Regions from separate parts of the Homo sapiens genome. Here regions 1, 2, 3 and 5 are each linked to region 4. Evidence: promoter capture Hi-C in 16 types of primary human blood cells and fetal thymus (Javierre and others, 2016). All regions are on one chromosome and are shown on one strand. The core of a region is centred on a gene start or on the middle of the fragment in contact, and the rest is flanking DNA. Distances in the headings are between cores, read along the strand shown.

Region 1 (3,719 bases), core at 576-3,075, 540 kb after region 4:
CAGGGCTGCATCAAAAGACAAGTCTTTGGACCATGTCAAGACCTGGAGCGAAGAAGGTAATGAACTCCTACTTCATAGCAGGCTGTGGGCCAGCAGTTTGCTACTACGCTGTCTCTTGGTTAAGGCAAGGTCAGTATTATTGTTTTGATTTTACAGATGAGGAAACTGAGTCCCAGGGAGGTTAAGTGTCTTGCCCAGCCACAGCACAGAGAGCAGGGGCTCTGCTCCATCTTCACCATTCTTCCCACCACTGCCCCTGACCTTCAGAGAGTCTGAGAACATTCTTGTAGCTGTTGAGCTATGAGCATAACTGTCATCAGCTGCTGCTGAAACTGTACCCTGAGAAGCAAGGGAGAGGGTCACTGAATTTTCACCATGGTTCTCTGCCAGGCAACTATGCTAAAAAACATCTTTTCCTCCCCAGTATGTTAGTAGGAGGCAAGCAGATTGTTATAGCCTTCTGTCTTCTTGTAGATAATGGTGGCAGGCTGGCCCTGACTCAGGAGATAAAGGGATCTGAGAGGACCACAGCCACATGAGAAGGCCAACTCCTGTAGGAGGCTGGCTGGCTTCTGCAGAGACAGCACTGAGCTGCCCCTGGGGTCGTGGGTAGGATCCATTCCCTCGTTAAAGATATAACTTCCTCTACCTGGCCCTTCATAACCTGCCCGTGGCCCATCTTCTCAAGGTCATCACCCACTCCCTGGACACATTAGGCCCACCAGGTTCCCAGATTCTGCCCATGAGTTTCCAGAATGTCCTTTCCCATCCCTCCACCCCATTCTCTTCTTCTTACATTCCTTTAATACCCAGCCGAAATCTTACCTCCCCTAAAGAGCCTTCCCAGTTTCTCCAACAAGAAGTACTCTCGCCTTCCACCTACTCCCACTGTGACTCTGGTATCCACTGTCTGCCTAGAGTGACATTGGTAGGAATGTCTGTGGCTTGCTACTGGGCATCAAGCACTTTGTTATGTCATTTAATGCAGTATAAGATCTCATTTAATATGGGAGCTATTCTTCTTACACCCATTAAACAGATGGAAAAATTAAAGCTCAGGAAGGCATCCTCTTACCCAAAGTCATGCTGCTATTAGATGAAGAATTAGGATTTGAACCCAGGTCTTTCTGACTATAAGGTTCACACTCTTTGTTACTTATACCTTCTGCTTCCCACTTCCTTAGGAAGCAGCCATTTCCTTTGTAATAGACTGTAAGCACTGGAGAATGGGGCCTGTGTTTCATTCACCATCTGAGTCCCTGGGATGCCTGGCTGAGTGTCCTGGATCCAGGCGCTGCTCCATGAATGCTGAATTGAATTTGGTTACACCTTCTGCGTATTACAAAACTCCCATCACCAGAGCCCCCTTTGTGAATGGCCAAGATCTTTGGTCCTCTCCCCTTCCACCCCAGGAAGGGGAACACCTGAAATCAGCTGACAGCTAACATTAAGTGACAGCTGAGTGAAAGGCAAGAAGAGGGAGGGAGCAAGGGGGAAGGCAGGCAGGATTGCAGAAGCCGGGAGGGAGCTCAGAGGAGGAGGAGGGCTGTCCTGCTGAATCTGGCCAGCTTGCAGTTACTTAGAGTACAAGATCTGGAGTTACCAGACCCAGCCTCAAATCCTAGCTCTTCCATAGTAACTGGGGAAACCTGGGCAAGTTGTTGGACCTGAGTTTCAGTTTTCTTTTCCATAAAATGGGCATGTCAGGGTGAGTGGGCGGTGCAGTGGGGGGAGAATAAAAAGGGCATGTCCCTGTCCTCACTAGACCTCTTCATTCAGGAGGAATGAGGTTGTGTCTGAGGGAGGGAGGGAGTGCTGCCTACGGGGATGTTACCTACTTGAAATGGGGACAGTTGGAGGACCAGCACAACCTGAAATGGCTTCCCCATGAAGTCATTGAGCCCTGAAGGCCTGGGGCAGCAGGGAACTCACAGAATCACAGACCCATAATAAAGATCTTGGAGACAATTCAGTTTGGCTTTCTTACTCCAAGAGGCAGCACAGCATGGTGGACTGATGGGAAGCTCTGCCAGCAACGGGTTGTTCCCAAATCCTGGGCCCCACTTGCTAATTGTGTAGCCTTGTGCATGCCACTTTGTCGGTCTCAGACCGCTGGTTCCTTATCTTTTTTTTTTTTTTTTTTTGAGACAGTGTCTCGCATGTTGCCCAGGCTGGAGTACAGTGGCGTGATTTCAGCTCACTGCAAACTCCGCCTCCCAGATTCAAGCAATTCTCTTGCCCCAGCCTCCTGAGTAGCTGGGATTACAGGCACGTACCACCATGCCTGGCTAATTTTTGTGTTTTTTGTATGGACGTGGTCTCACCATGTTGGCTAGGCTGGTCTTGAACTCCTGACCTCAAGTGATCCACCTGCCTCAGCCTCCCAAAGTGCTGGGATTACAGGCGTGAGCCATCGCGCCTGTCCGGGTTCTTCATTTTTAATATGAAATTCAAAGTAGTTCCTTTGCCACAGCACTACTGGGAGGATCAGAGACCCAGACAATAACAGCTGGTCATTCGCTGGCCCTGTGGGAACTGAGGCTCAGAGAGGGAAAGTAATTCACCCATGGTCACACAGCAGGTTAGCGAAATCAAGCCTATGCCCAGGCCTCCCAAAGCCCAACCCTGGGCTAATCATCAGACAGCTGTGGCCTTATCACAAAGAAGGCTGAGACTACCCTTGAACATGCAGCCAAGGAACTCATACTGGGAATCACTGGTGGGATTCCGTATCTCACTGAGCTGAAATAATTGCTTGGGTTGCCTGTGGATGGAGTATGGCAAAAAGCCCAAGTCAGAGCCTAGGGTCACATGTCCAACCTGGGGTCTAATCCACAGTATAACCCTGGCCATGTCGGGTCACCTCTCTGACCTCTCTGAGCCTCAGTATATTCTCTGCTTACAAAATGGGAGCAAGAATTCCTGGCAGTGCAAAGGAATCATGTAAGACACAGACTATTTCTTTTCTTTTCCTTTCTCTCTCTCTCTCTCTTTCTTTTTCTTTCCTTCCTTCCATCCTTACTTCCCTTTCTTTTCTTTCCTTTCCTTCCTTTTTTTTTTTTTTTTTTTTTAGACAAGGTCTTCCTGGGTCACCCAGGCTGAGTGCAGTGGTGCAATCCTGGCTCACTGCAGCCTTGACCTCCTGGACTCAAGTGATCCTCCCACTTCAGCCTCCCAAGTAGTTGGGACTGACTACAGGTGTGCACCACTACGCCTGGCTAATTTTCTATTTTTTGTAGAGACAGGGTCTCAGTATGTTGCCTTGGCTGGTATTGAACTCCTAGATGCAAGTGATCCTCTCGCCTCAGCCTCCCAAAGTGCTGGGATTACAGGTGTGAGCCACCATGTGTGGCCCAGAGCTATTTTCACAGCAGCTACCCATGAGCTCCCACTGGGCACCTCACTATGCATCCAGCCTGTGCTGTCACTAGCAATGGCTTCATTTAGTCCTCACAACAGCCCTGCGTGGTGGGAACCTAATTTGTAGATAAATGTCTACGAACAGGTAGAACCAGGATCCGACCTCGAAAGGTATTCTCTATGTCTATTCTCTCACCCCTCCTCTTTCCCTACCTAACTTGGGCTTCTTCTTCAGGTTTCAGTATCAACCTGACTTCTTTTGGAAGGATCCCTTGGCCTCACGCTGGAGTGGGCACCTGCCCTAGCCCACAGAGCTGGATTTCTCCCTTTCTTCAATCACACAGGGAGCACCACTATGC
Region 2 (3,757 bases), core at 973-3,472, 510 kb after region 4:
TCTCTGAGCTGCTAAATTGGAGCTATGACCTAATTCACAAGATTATTAGCTTGAACTTTAAAATGTAGGCTGGGCGTTGGCCGGGTGCAGTGGCTTACGCCTGTAATTCCAGTACTTTGGGAGGCCGAGGTGGGCGGATCACCTGAGGTCAGGAGTTCGAGACCAGCCTGACCAACATGGAGAAACCTGTCTCTACTAAAAATACAAAATTAGCTGGGCGTGGTGGCGCATGCCTGTAATCCCAGCTACTTGGGAGGCTGAGGCAGGAGAGTCGCTCGAACCCAGGAGGCAGAGTTTGCACTGAGCCAAGATTGTGCCACTGCCCTCCAGCCTGGGCAACAGAGAGAGACTCCGTCTCAAAAAAAAAAAAAAAATGTAGGCTGGGCGCAATGGCTTATGCCTGTAATCCCAGCACTTTGGGAGGCTGAGGCAGGAGGATCACTTGAGGTGAGGAGTTGGAGAGCAGCCTGGCCAACATGGTGAAACCCTGTCTCTACTAAAAATACAAAAATTAGCCAGGTGTGGTGCCATGCACCTGTAGTCTCAGCTACTCAGGAGGCTGAGGCAGGAGAATCGCTTGAACCTGGGAGGTGGACATTGCAGTGAGCTGAGAGTGTGCCACTGCACTCTAGCCTGGGCAACAGAGTGAAACTCTTGTCTCAAAAATAATAATAAAAAAATAAAAATGTACATAAAGCTTCACTTAGCAGGGTGACTGACTAGCTCACAAAAGACAGCAAATGTTATTTCCCCTCCCCTTCCTAGTACAGAATGGCATGGGAGTAGAACTTTGGGAAATGAATTTGACAATAGATTCCTTCAGGTTTGTTTGTTTGCTTGAGACAGGCTGTCACCCAGGCTGGAGTGCAGTGGTGTAATCAGGGCTCACTGCAGCCTCAACCTCCCAGGACCAAGCAATCCTCCCACCTCAGCCTCTCAAATAGGTGGGACTACAGGCATGCAACAACACAGCTGGCTAAATTTTTGTACTTTTAGTACAGATGGGGTTTTACTGTGTTGCTCGGGCTGGTCTCAAACTCCCGGACTCAAGCAATCCTCCTCCCACCTCGGCCTCCTAAAGTACTGGGATTACAGGTGTAAACCACCTTGCCAGGCTTGTTATAACATTTCTAGGACTCCTTTTCTCTAGTTGGGGATCAAAATATCCATGGCGTAGTGGAAAGAACCTTAAAGTAAGACAGCCCATTTCAATCTCAACCTTGCCTCTTACTAGCTATGCACGTTACATCACCGAATACCTGGTTTCCTCATGTGTTAAAAATATTAACATTCCTCACTGCTAAGGCTGCTGTAAAGATTCAGAGACCATGCATTCAAAGTACCCAAGACACAGTAAGTATTTGAGATGGTAATTTTTATTAGCCAGTCTAATGATTGGGTTTTATAATGAAAGAAGACCTGTTAAGTCACACCCAGCTCTGAATCATAGTGTTTGTGCTTGCCTGATAGTCACATCTGCTAAGATGAGGACCCTCTCAGTCTCTGGATGGCAGATTCTAAGGGTGTATGGGAGGAAGGTATGGAGGGCCTGATGGCCCACGCACAGCCTATTTAATCTTACAGAGCCAAGAGGAATCCTAGCTCCCTGATCCCGAAGGATTTAAGGACGGCCAAGAATTTACCCAACAATAGCTTCATTATCAAGAATCCTACCCCTTCCCCCAACTCAAAGAAATGGACTTTTGAGCAGGGTTTGAGGAGCTACTGGAAATCTGAAGCAATAGCAACAATAATTTTTTCTGGGGGGGGGGGGGGGGCGGGGACGGAGTTTTTGCTCTTGTTGCCCAGGTTGGAGTGCAATAGCGCGATCTCGGCTCACCGCAACCTCTGCCTCGCAGGTTCAAGCGATTCTCCTGCCTCAGCCTGCTGAGTAGCTGGAATTACAGGCATGCGCCTCCATGCCCGGCTAATTTTGCATTTTTACTAGAGATGGGGTTTCTCCATGTTGGTCAGGCTGGTCTCGAACTCCTGACCTCAGGTGATCCGCCCACCTCGGCCTCCCAAACTGCTAGGATTACAGGCGTGAGCCACCGCGCCCAGCCAACATCAATAAATTTAAACATCCCTTTTCAAGTATAATTTCTTCCATTCTAAGTGAAAACATTAAAAACACTGAAAGTCTCCTAAGGGTGAAATGTGTTGTATCCATTTTCTTTCTAGTCTCAACCCAAAGAGCATGGCAGTTAAGAGAACCAGGGACAAGGATTCGGGATCTGAATGCTACTCCAGATGCACCAATTTTGCCATGACCTAGAAAGCTATTTCATTTCTCTGGACTTTAATTTCTCATGCTGTAACATTGAGATGACCCCTTCTTAACGATTTGAGAAAGTTATCTTGACAAGTTTTAAAACGTTTTAAGTAGAATTGGGGAAAAAATATGCAGCAGTGAAGACTTCCAGGCTTACATCACATGTAATTTACAGCACCCTCTTAGGTCCTTTCAAAGAGCCTCATCTATTATTTATGTGGCTAACCTCCTTTTCTTTCTTTTTTTTGAAACCGAGTCTCACTCTGTTGCCCAGGCTGGAGTGCAGTGGGACAATCTCGGCTCCCTGCAACCTCCGCCTCCTGGGTTCAAGTGATTCTCCTGCCTCAGCCTCCATCGTAGCTGGGATTACAGGCACCAGCCACCACACCCAGCTAATTTTTGTATTTTTAGTAGAGGCGGGGTTTCACCATATTGGTCAGACTGGTCTCGAACTCCTAACCTCAAGTGATCCACCCACCTCAGCCTCCCAAAGTACTGGGATTACAGGCATGAGCCACTGCACGCGACCTATGTGGCTAACATTAATCACGTATGTCCATACTTCCCCATACCTCATTCCCAAAGAAGGTGCCTTACACACCATGAACTTAGATTAAAACATAACCCAAATCCTACACTTAAAAAATGAGGGACCTGAACCTCAAAGGTGGCATGGCTTGCCAAGGTTCCCCAGGCCCCCCAGAGGGCCGTTAAAATTCTGAATAAATCTTGGGTGGAAGCTGTCCTCTAGCTTACCAGCTGTATAAATTCCAGAGATCCACAACCTTTGCACTTTAGCTTCCTCATCTGTAAAGTGGGACAAAACCTTTCAGAAGACAGCTGTAAAACGTAAATGTGAATGCTTTAGCAACTGCAAAGGACATTTCAAATGTAAAAGCGACCGGGCACAGTGGCTCATGCCTGTAATCCCAGCACTTTGAGAGGCTGAGGTGGGAGGATCACTTGAGGTCAGGAGTTCAAGACCAGCCTGGCCAACATGGTGAAACCCCATCTCCACAAAAATACCAAAATTAGCCGGGCACGACAGTGGGTGCCTGTAATCCCAGCTACTCAGGAGGCTGAGGCAGGAGAATCACTTGAACCTGGGAGGCAAAGGTTGCAGTGAGCTGAGATCGTGCCATTGCACTCCAGCCTGGGTGACAAGAGTGAGACTCCCATCTCAAACAAAAAAAGAAAATGTAAGAGCCCTTTGTGTGTGTGTGTGAGAGAGAGAGAGACAGAGAGAGAAAAGAGAGAGAGAGAGAGGTCTTGCTATCAGAGACAGAGAGAGAGAGAAAAAAAGGTCTTCCTATCTCCCAGGCTGGGGTACAGTGGAGCAATCACGGCTCACCGCAGCCTCGACCTCCCGGGCTCCATCCTCCCAAGCAGCTGGGACTACAGGCGCACGCCACCATGGCCCAGCAACATTTTGTCTACGTGCTTATCAAAAGCAAGTATTAGCCATATAAAGCTTGTTGACTTTCA
Region 3 (3,614 bases), core at 8-2,507, 540 kb before region 4:
CACAGAGAGGCTAAGTAATTTTCTCGAGGCTTTGTAGGTGGTAGATAGCAAAATTGGGATTGGAACCCAAGCAACCTGGTCCCAGGATCCATGAACTTAACCTTCAAGCTTACTGCCTCTGTCTACCTGTGTCCAGCACCAGAGTGCTGAGGCCATTGTAGTCCTTAGCCTGGGTTTGGGAGGGGGCTTGCACTTGAAGAGTCCCTTTTATATAGGATTTGTTTTCAAAGTGGTATAGGTTGGCCTTTTGTATGACCCAATCTTGCAAAAGAAATTTCTCCCCTTTTGCTTGTCATGGTGCCCAAAGTATCATCAATAGAGTCACCTCAGTGAATCTTAAAGACTGAGCAAAAAGATTGCTTTCAGGCCTTATACCTTATACCATTGGAAGAATCATTTTAATAGCGTGATTGTATTGAGGTGCTGGTACTCTGGGCTGGGCATCTGGCCTGTCCTCCTCTTCAGACACCCTCTCTTATTCTTAAATACCCCATCTCCTATGTCCTGAGGCTTCTCTGAATTAGAGGCTCCAATGACAAGGTCCTGCCAAGAGATCTGATCTTAGGGGTGAGGTATTGAGAAGAAGAAGAAGTGAGGAAGATGGGTTTTGAAAGAGGTACAGGATCCAGAAATAAACCTCACCACTTTCTCCATTTTCCTAGGATTGGGTCTATGTGAACAAACACGTTTCCATGGTTAACTATTCAACTGAATACTTCTCCTCTGGAGGAATTAAATCTGAAGGTGTTTGGTTAAATGCTTTGGGGCCTCTATGTGACTGTGGGGCCTCTGTGTTCAGAGTCTCTAAGCATTAATGACTCTCAGGGATGGTTGAAGTCAGGAATAACAATTCTGCATCCTGATGATATTGTAAAGATACCACTACTAAAAACGATGTTTCATTACTATTATTTGTATAATCATTCATTATTTCAAAAGCACGTCTGTGCATTCTTTCATTTGATCTTCCCAGTAGCTTCATGTGGATTGCTAAGAATAAGCAATGGGGCTGGGCGTGGTGGCTCATGCCTACAATCCAAGCACTTGAACTCAGGAGTTGAAGACCAGCCTGAGAAACATGGTGAAACCCCTCCTCTACAAAAAATACAAACATTAGCTGGGGGTGGTGGCACGTGCCTGTAGTCCCAGCTACTTGTGGGGCTGAGGCGGGAGGATGCAGTGAGCCAAGATCGCGCCACTGCACTCCAGCCTAGACCCAGTCTCAAAAACAAAAGCAAAACCAAAAACAAACAACAACAAGAAAATCAACTGTAATAAATAAATAACAGCAGGAGCTAGTACATGTAGTGCCTGACATGTCAGGCCTTGCACTGTGTCACATCAGTTATCTCATTCAGTGTTCATATCAATTTGTAAAGTAGCCGTTATTTTTTATTCCTGTTTTACAGATGAGGAAACTGAGGCACGGAGGTTGAATAAGCCACCCCAACTCTCATAGATATTACATGAGTAAGTGGCAGAGCTGGGATTGGAACCAGAGTCTGTCTGCCTTTGAAACCTGTGCTCCCAGTTACAGGTTTCATGGCCTCTCTAGGTATCCAGGCAGTGAAGGAAAAGGGGAATAAGATGCAGTATTCCGGGCAGAGGGAAAAGTATATACAAAGGATATGGACTTTTGGAAGAGCATGACTCATTAGAAGAGTTTCATCCTGCATGGCCAAAGTAGCAAGGAAAACCTTGAAGAAGATGGCAATGATTAAGGTATTTCTGGGTTACAGTGTGTCCTTTATCCTAGGGATATGTGGAAAGTCACGAGGGGGCTTCCTCTGGTTAGGGTTGTAGTTTGGAAAGCTCTCTCTGCTCTGTGGAAAGTTGACTGAATGACTGAGCTTAGAGGGAGGGAGCTGATTAGGAGCCTGTTGTAATAGGCAAGGGGAGAGAGCTTTAGCAGCACGTGAACCAAGTCTATGGTAGGAATGATGGAGAGGAGGGGATGATGCTGAAGATGTTAGTGGAGACAGAGTTGACAGGACTTGGAGATTGAGTGGCTGAAACTCACCAGGGTTAAGGAGGAGCAAAGTGTGAGACTTAGGTTCAGGTCTCAGTGAGTGGATGGGTCACAGGGTTCCGGAAGTGGGGAACCCAGGTGCATAAACTCATCTGAGGGTGAGCAAGGAAAGAAGTTTGGGGTGTCAATGAGTCACCCAAGCAGACATGTCCACTCTCCTGTCCAGGCTGATCAGTGGCTCATCTCTTCTCAAAGTAGCTGTTGCCGCTGTGGGGCAGCTCTCATTCCTCCTGCTTTGATGCAAAACGTATCCTTATGATTTTCACCTTACTTCTGGTTCTGGCTTCACCATCAAGTATGGAAAGTCTTTCATCCTTTATTTAACCTTTCCCAGTGAAGTTTTTCTTCATGCCACAGCCTCCAAGAAGTAAGCTTGCAAACTTGCCTTATAAAGTCTCTTTTTCTGTCTGGTCTGGTCACTCCTGCCCTCTAGTGGTTAGTGCTAGGGCAGCATGGGGCTGGGTACCCACGGGGCCTACTGGGTTCTATCCCAGCCCGTCTTCCCTGCCTTCCTGTCTTTTCCTAGGCTTTCACCAGAATCCCTCTCATCCGCACCTTGTCTTGCCATCAGATTAAGTTTGGCATTGGAGCGATATCCTGTGTCCTGTCCTAATGATTCAAGAGGAAAAGACCTTGAAAATTACATAATCCAGCTCCCCACTTTCACATCTGTGGACCAAAATGACTACAACGGCCTTCTAACCTGTCTGGCTCCTTTCATAGACACATCCTCTAGGTCTATTTCTACACAGTGGCCAGGTAGACCAGATATCCCTCTTGTCTCTAACCCTCCAATGGCTTACTTTCACAATTGGCTTCAAATCAAAATTGATTTCAACATGGCCCTTCATGATCTGACCCCTCTCTGCTTTTCTAAACATTCTCTTACAAGAATCTTGTTCTAACTTCCTGATGGAGCTGGCCATCCCTCTGTTCTTCAAATGTGCCTTGCTTTTTCCTACCTTAGTGCCTTTGCTTATACACTTCTCTCTCCCCATCCTTTATGTTTCAGCCTAAAGATCACTCCTGAAAGAAGTGAAATTGTCTCTGTTTGCTGATGACATGATCTTAAATATAGAAAATCCTAAAGATTCTACAAAAAAAAAAAAACCTGTTAGAACCGATAAACAAATTCAGTGAAGTTGCAGGGTACGAAATCAACACGCAAAAATCAGTAGCATTTTTTTATACTAACAACAAACTAACTGCTAAGGAACTTAAGAAATCAATTTCATTCACAATAGCACCAAAAAATGAAATGCTTAGGAGTAAATTTAACCAAGGAGGTGAAAGACCTTCTTACTGGAAACTATAAAACATTGGTGAAAGAAATTGTAAGTGACACAAATAAATGGAAAGGTATCCCGTGTTCACGGATTGGAAGAATGATATGTCCGTACTAACCAAAATGATCTGCAGATTCAATGCAATCCCTATCAACATTCCAATGTTATTTTTCATGGAAATAAAAAAATCCTAAAATTTGTATAGAACCACAAAAGAATCTGAATAGTCAAAGCAATTTTGAGACAAAAGAAGAAAGCTAGAGGCACTTGAAATCTATTACAAAGCTATAGTAATCAAA
Region 4 (3,299 bases), core at 110-2,609:
AATGTCTTAACCAGGAAAATGAAAGGGCGAGAAGTTCAGAATAACGGCCTCATTTTACCCAATTCCCTAAAAATAAGGTGAAAACGTAGGAAGGTTTGCTTTTGTTTTGAAGAATTCACCTAAAAATCCCCAGGGAACATCTTTTTCATTTTTCCTTAGCACACTCAAGTTTCAAATTCACTAGCTCAGTATTTGAAGAGGACCACTCTTACCTTGCCGCTTTACTCCCAAATTATTGTCCCCAAAAAGTATCTTTTAGGGAAACAAAGCAGCTTCACCTGCAGTCCCACAAACCAATAACAGAATATGATCCTTTCTCAACTTTACTGCCCCCAAACTGCAAGCTCTCAAGATCAACGTTTGCCTCAGTTTTAGCAAAAAAGCAACATTTCACCCAAGAAAATGAAATGGTCTGAAACACGCCTACACGCTGTCCTTTCTAAAACTTTTCGGCGGCGAAGTCCAAGCGCTCACCGCGGTGCTCGGCGCATGAACACAACAGAATCTAAAATTGTTGCCGCTTCACAGCAGCGATACAAGCTACCGGTGGCCTCGGATTGAGGGCAGATTTTTAACTTCTAGCAATTTCCAAACTTTTTCATTGAAATACTCCAACAGCTGAAGAAATTAACTCGGACCCCTCACAGTCCAGAAAGGTTTAACCCAAGCCAAGCTCATCATTTCCAACTTGAAATCTAACCAGTTGTGGAAATTGTGCGTTCCCTCCTCTCCCTGGTTCCGTTTACTGCAAAACCAGAAGCCATGACTCACCGAGGAGGGGACCAGAGCCCCCGGGAGGCCGGGCCATGTTCTCCAGGAGCCGGACCCCAGCCGACCACCCGCGCTTCCCGTCGCCTGCACCCTCCGGCTCCGCGACGCCCGGAAGAGCCCGGGCCTCCCGTGAAGGCCCCCCCGGCGTCCCCGCACTTGGCCTATCGCCCGGCCACGCCCGCGCCTGCAGCCCACAGATGACGCCAACCCGCCCTGCACCCACCCCAAGCACTCCCCACTCCCCGCGGGCCGCCCAGCCCCGGCCCCAGCGTACCTGTACCCCCAGGTGCACAGCAGGGACTGCCTCAGGTGCGAGCGCAAATGCCCCAGCGTCGGCTCCGTCTCGGGCACCTCCAGCGGCCAGGTCCGCTTCAGAAGCCGCACCCGCAGCCTCATGACGGCGGCAGGCGGCCCGAGGGGCCTGGACCCGGAAGCGGCGACGGGGACGGCGGCGGGGCCGAGCAGCTCCCGCCCCAAACGGCGACGACCCCGGACTGGCGACTACCGGAGCTGAGGGGTAGCTGAGGCGAAACGGGGAAAGAGCCCCGCCACAGTGGCCGCCCTGCCACTCGGTCTCTGGAATAGAGCGCCCGCCCCTCTCCTGAGGGCGCCTCCTGGAGCCGACCCCGAGAGCTGGAGGCGGGCAGGCGGCCTAAAGGAACCGGGCCTCTCGGGGTCGGCCGATCGATGACTCCGCGCGCAACGGCGCTGCCTGAGAGCGCGGGCACAGTGCGCAGGCGCCGAGATGCGGCCGCTCGCTGGCATCCCAGATTTTCCGCGGCGGTGGCTGGGACTCCCAGTACTTACTCCCTGTGTGCGTGGAACAACGGTAGCGCTGATAGGGATGCTGCAGACAGACAATACAGTCGCCACTCCCCAGGACCAAGTGTCACCCCCTTTCTTCCGTGGCCCTCAGTTCCAGCGGCATCTGCTCTGAGAAGCCTTAGGTTAATCCTTAGGTTGGCCGGGCGCGGTGGCTCACGCCTGTAATCCCAGCACTTTGGGAGGCCGAGGCGGGTGGATCGTTTGAGCCCAGGAGTTCGAGACCAGCCTGGGCAACATGGTGAAACCCCCCCCCCCATCTCTACAAAAAATACAAAAAATTAGGTGTGGTGGCGCCTGCCTGTAGTCCCAGCTAGTTGGGTGGCTGAGGCGGGAGGGTCGATTGAGCCCGGAGGTCGAGGCCTCAATGAGCTGTGATCGCACCACTGCACCTCAGCCTGGTTCCACAGAACGAGACCCTGTCTCAAAAAAAAAGTAGAACTATTTGTAGCCAGTAATCTATGTCCGACAGTTTATTAGAACTCTGTGGCTGCATAACAATCACCCCAAAGTTTAACGCAATAAACATTTGTTGTCCCACAGGTTTTAGAGGTAAAGGGATTTGGGGATGCGTGGCTGGGTGGTTCTGTCTCCAGGTCTCCCATGAGATTACAAACTGTAGGCCAGGGCAGCAGTTATTGACTAGGGCTGGAGGATCGGCCTCCAGGATGGCACAGTCATGACTGTTGGCCAGAGACCTGTTTTCACCACGTGAACCTCCCCATAGGGCTGTTTGAGTGTCCCCATGACATGGCAGCTGGCTTCCTTCAGAGCAGGTGATCCCAGAGAGACCAAGGTATAAGCCACAATGTCTTTTATGACCTAGCTCCAGAGGTCACATACGGCTTTTGTCATATTTACAAACCAACCCTATGTGTGAGAGGATCCAGCCAAAGGTATGAATGCCAACAGACAGGGATCGCTGCGGGCCATCCTGGAGGCTGGCTACCATAGAGGGTCTAACTAATGATAACTTAGATGAGAGAGAGTATCAAGTTTCGTCCTTGTGTGATAACCATAGTCCAAATCCTTAGAGTCAAATAAAGTTTCTCCCAATAGGTGGCAGCACTTGTCCACATCCTGCCCTTGATTCTGCAAATAAATATGTATTGATTGCCTACTTTGTGACAGATACCCCACATGCTGGAGACTCAAGAGACCAAAAAGACATGTTTCTGCCCATGCAAAGTTTACAGTTGAGTGAATCAGCTCTTTCAGTAGAGTGTAAAAAGTCTCTGCTTTATGATAGACATAAATACAGACCTGAGGAATGGGATTGTTAGAAATGTTTGTTTTTTGATGTTGTAAAGAAATAGCACTTGAATATAAATTTAATTTTTTTAGCAAGGCCATTTTTATTTTTTGTAGAAAGGGTATACTCGCCAGCAGTTTTGTCACGAGAGTACACCGAACAAAGGAGACAGGGTCATATATAACCTGATGTGTCCACTTTACTGCTGTGTCTGGTTTTTTGTTTGTTTTTGTTTTTTTTTGTTGTTGTTGTTGTTTGAGATGGAGTCGCGCTCTGTCGCCCAGGCTGGAGTGCAGTGGCGTGATCTCGGCTCACTGCAAGCTCCGCCTCCTGGGTTCACGCCATTCTCCTGCCTCAGCCTCCCGAGTAGCTGGGACTACAGGCACCCGCCACCACACCTGGCTAATTTTTGTATTATTATTATTATTATTATTATTATTATTATTATTATTAT
Region 5 (3,579 bases), core at 1,018-3,517, 560 kb before region 4:
AGAAGGGGCCCTGGGAGATGAGCCCTGGAGGACTTGAAGCAGGAATTCCTGCCCAGAACTCTCCGCTCTGCTGTTGCAGGTTTTGCAGAACAGAGTGCCAGGGACTTGGAGCAGAGATGCAGAAGCCCCAGAACAGCCCCGGGGCTTCCGCCTGCAGCTCAGGGATCCTTTGGCCAGGGTTTTGTAGTGCACTACCTCAGCTAATCATGGCACAGTTTAGGGGTGCGAGAGCTGCTCAGTTCTAATCTGACTCTTAAGATTTCCAACTTGACTCTTCTGTAAAATAGGATGACTGGCTGCCTTGGGTTTGGTGGCAGGGGCTCCAGGAACGTTGGATTTCTCCTTCCACTCCTGTCTGCCTCTTTAATAAAGTAGGGTGCAGCAGCACACTGGGGATGGGGCAGTCTTGGGTCCTGATGTCATGCCCAGTTCTGTGGCCCTAGAGGCTTTCTTGAAGGCCCCCAGAGCTTGCTTTTCTGCCATTCTGAGAAGGATTGTGTCCCTAAGCAGGTCTGGACCCTGGGGGAAAGGATGTGAGAATTGCTCAATCGGAGCTCACAGTGGAGGTTAAGAGAGCGTGGGTGGGCTGGAAGGCAAGTCGGCTTTTCTTCAGCAGCTCAACCAGACAGTGCAGCAGGAATGACTGTTTTCTGCAGAGCTGGAGGAGGCAGCGCCGCAGCAGTAATCCCCATCCTGGCTGTGAAAAATCCCTTCCTTGCCTGCAAGTGACAGCAGCTAGGGATCTTTTGGTGGAATCTGATGCCAGGATGTGAAGGCTCTGCTTCCCTCTGCCTATGGCGTGCCATCAACCTTAGGGATCCTGGTGCCTGGCCTAAGGGGGCATTACTGCTGTTTGGCAAAATCCCAGCCACTTCCCAGGGCTCAGGAAGCAGCTTTTGGTGGGGAGCCTGGGAGGCAGCAGCCCCTGATGAGAAAGAGAGCCAGCAGGGCACCGGATTGCCTGGGTATTCTTTTAATCTAGTTCTTTTTTCTGGTTTCATTTTCTCGATCTTTTGTTTTTATTCCTTTTTTTTTTTAACTTCATGCATTCTTATTTTATTCATTCACTGCATTTTTCTTCTTTACTTTCTTCCATCCTAATTTTTACCTTTCTTTTTCTCTTTCTTCTCCTTTTCTTTCCTGCCTTTCATCTACTTATTTGTTAATTCAGTATTAATCCATCTAGCATTTTCTCAGCCTCTTGCTAGAGCTGGAGGTGCAGGTAACACCTTCCTTTCCCTCTGGAGGAGCTCAGACACTGTGGGAATGTGGGGAGAAGACACAGGCAAGCAGGCAGGAGTGGTAGTTAAAAGCCTGTTAGTTCTAGACTCTGCAGTCCCACCAGTGGCTTCTTCACTGGGTTACCTTAGGCAAATTACCGAACCTTTCTGAGTCTCGGATGCTTCAGCGTAAAATCAGGATAACAGAAGCTTCTTCATTGGATTGCTGGAAACACTAGAGAGAGTGCAGGGAAACTGCCTAGCCAAGTGCCTGGCATGTACAAGAATGCAACAGACTATGATTAATATAGTTTGACAAACACTATTAGAAATCAGGATAAAGGAAAGCAGAGAAATAAAATACTTTTCTGGGTCTGGTTCTTGCTCTTGAAAGTGAGAATCAAGATAGGCACCTGAGTTCTTCAGGACTGAGCCCCTCAATTTCAAATGAGGAAAGAAGCCCAGTGGTAGGTTGTATGGGGAGAAAGGAGCTCAGACTTTGGAGCCAGAACATCTGGGCCCAAAAAATCTGGGCAGCAAGCGGGCAAGTGACGCCACCTTTCTGAGCCTTAGTTTTCTCCATATGTGAAGCAGAGATAATAACAAAGGATTGCCATACATGGGAGGAAAAAACCCACTTTTTCTGCTATTTGTCTTAGGTGCATTGGCTGCGGCCCTGTAAATAAACTAATGAAAGATTAACAAGAGAAAAACAAACAGAAGTTTATGAGGTGCATATACTTAATTTATTAAGTGCAGCTGTGCATACACTTGGAAGCGCTGGGAGTTCAGTAACTCAAAGGGGTGATTGGAACTTGGGCTTGGCCGGGCATGATGGCTCACGCCTATAATCCCAGCACTTTGGGAGGCCGAGGTGGGCGGATCACCTGAGGTCAGGAGTTCAAGACCAGCCTGACCGACATGGAGAAACCCCGTCTCTACTAAAAATACAAAATTAGCCTGGTGTGGTGGTGCATACTTGTAATCCCAGCTACTCAGGAGGCTGAGGCAGGAGAATCAATTGAACCTGGGAGGCGGAGGTTGTGGTGGGCCGAGATCGCGGCATTGCCCTCCAGCCTGGGCAACAAGAGCGCAACTCTGTCTCAAAAAAAAAAAAAAAAAAAAAAAAAAAAAAGAACTTGGGCTTTACAGCATTTAAAAAAATTTTTTTAGACAAGGGACAAGACAAAGAAAAGGATTTTGAATTTCCAGGGCAGCAAATTGTGGAAAGTAAATATATGGGGAAGCTGATAGAAGCCAGTAAAGTTCGTTATATAGATGCCTCTGGTGCCTTGGGCTGATGAGGGTTTAAAGTTATCAGTGATTAATTTCTGTCCTTTCTGCTGGAGGTTTAGGGGATCAGCTTTGCAAATTTCTGTCCTGCTTTTAGGCAAACACAGGGAGGGCAGAGAGCTTTTCTTATATCTGCTTCTTCTCAACTGCCTTCAGCTCAAAATAATCCTTATGCCAAAGTGGTATATTTTGGGATAGCGTATTCTGGTCCCCTATGACAACTGAAATGAGTGACTGAAGCATAAGTCTCAATCATCGAGGTTTATGAAGGCAGCTTCAGGGCACGTCTGGGAAAAACATAAGCCACAGACACATCTGAGGCTGCTTTTCCGAGGAGGTTTTCAGGAAATTTAGTCTTTATACATTTTCTTAAAGAGGAGGAAGGCATGTAGGAAGAGGGGCAGGTAGGCGGTAAGGCAAATGCTTATACTCTTGTGAGACTTTCCTTAGTGCCCGGTAAATCTCCATTTTACATAAGATAAGGTGAATGATGAAGAGAAAAAAGGAGTAAAGGAAGAGTCAGTTATGGATGTCTCTGGGTGGTTGGAGAATGAGTCTTGACTTTGTCCTGGACCTGGGAAGATAAGCTTATAGTCAACGTTATTAGCTTATTATAATGTAGAATCAGAGCTAGACTTAGGCTGGTGCTGTGGCTCATGCCTGTAATCCCAACACTTTGGTAGACAGAAGGCAGGAGGATCACTTGAGGCCAGGAGTTTGAGACCAGCTTAGGCAACATATCAAGACCCCTGTCTCCACAATAAAAAATGAAAAATTATCTGGGCCTTGTGGTACGTGCCTATAGTTCTAGCTACTCAGGATGCTGATGTGGGAGGATCACTTGACTCCAGGAGTATGAGTCTGCAGTCAGCTGTGATCGTGCTACTGCACTCCAGCCTGGGTGACAGGGCAAGACCGTGTCTCAAATAAAAATAAAGACCTTGATTTAGATCGTAGACCTAAAGTTACATTTGGCACGTCCTTGTTTATGGGAGGGCAGCCAAGGTCACTTTTGAATGATCTTTGGGGGCAGTCCTTTGCAGATGCCTGAGGCCTTCCACCTTTC

What was found. The method cuts DNA at HindIII sites, captures the fragments that hold promoters and counts their contacts. A CHiCAGO score of 5 or more calls a contact.
Region 1: a contact is called between a fragment that was not itself captured here and the fragment with the promoter of FBXO7 in region 4, in 1 of 17 cell types (naive CD8 T cells). The highest score is 6.3, in naive CD8 T cells.
Region 2: a fragment that was not itself captured here is called in contact with the fragment with the promoter of FBXO7 in region 4 in 12 of 17 cell types (naive CD4 T cells, naive CD8 T cells, total CD8 T cells and 9 more); the score reaches 10.9 in naive CD4 T cells.
Region 3: a contact is called between a fragment that was not itself captured here and the fragment with the promoter of FBXO7 in region 4, in 1 of 17 cell types (megakaryocytes). The highest score is 7.4, in megakaryocytes.
Region 5: a contact is called between a fragment that was not itself captured here and the fragment with the promoter of FBXO7 in region 4, in 1 of 17 cell types (megakaryocytes). The highest score is 5.3, in megakaryocytes.

The regions. Positions count from the first base shown.
Region 1 is chr22:31,934,326-31,938,044 of GRCh38, reverse strand. It overlaps YWHAH-AS1 (YWHAH antisense RNA 1), which reads left to right. Exons shown (of 3, transcript NR_171018.1): 2 at 1-129; 3 at 3,596-3,719. Among named protein-coding and RNA genes, the nearest start is that of YWHAH, 8.4 kb to the left of the region's middle. The HindIII fragment of the contact is 4,105 bases long and covers 1-3,719 here.
Region 2 is chr22:31,958,828-31,962,584 of GRCh38, reverse strand. No RefSeq gene overlaps it. Among named protein-coding and RNA genes, the nearest start is that of LINC02558, 10 kb to the left of the region's middle. The HindIII fragment of the contact is 3,046 bases long and covers 700-3,745 here.
Region 3 is chr22:33,017,286-33,020,899 of GRCh38, reverse strand. The region is part of intron 1 of SYN3 (synapsin III); the gene reads left to right. Among named protein-coding and RNA genes, the nearest start is that of SYN3, 39 kb to the left of the region's middle. The HindIII fragment of the contact is 2,293 bases long and covers 111-2,403 here.
Region 4 is chr22:32,472,871-32,476,169 of GRCh38, reverse strand. FBXO7 (F-box protein 7) reads right to left here and starts at 1,359. Exons shown (of 9, transcript NM_012179.4): 1 at 1,046-1,359. The coding sequence starts at 1,167. RefSeq lists enhancers at 843-1,012, 598-1,098, 1,267-1,436, 1,099-1,599, 2,325-2,384 and silencers at 769-1,078, 1,089-1,278. The HindIII fragment of the contact is 4,456 bases long and covers 1-3,299 here.
Region 5 is chr22:33,035,455-33,039,033 of GRCh38, reverse strand. The region is part of intron 1 of SYN3 (synapsin III); the gene reads left to right. Among named protein-coding and RNA genes, the nearest start is that of SYN3, 21 kb to the left of the region's middle. The HindIII fragment of the contact is 1,670 bases long and covers 1,433-3,102 here.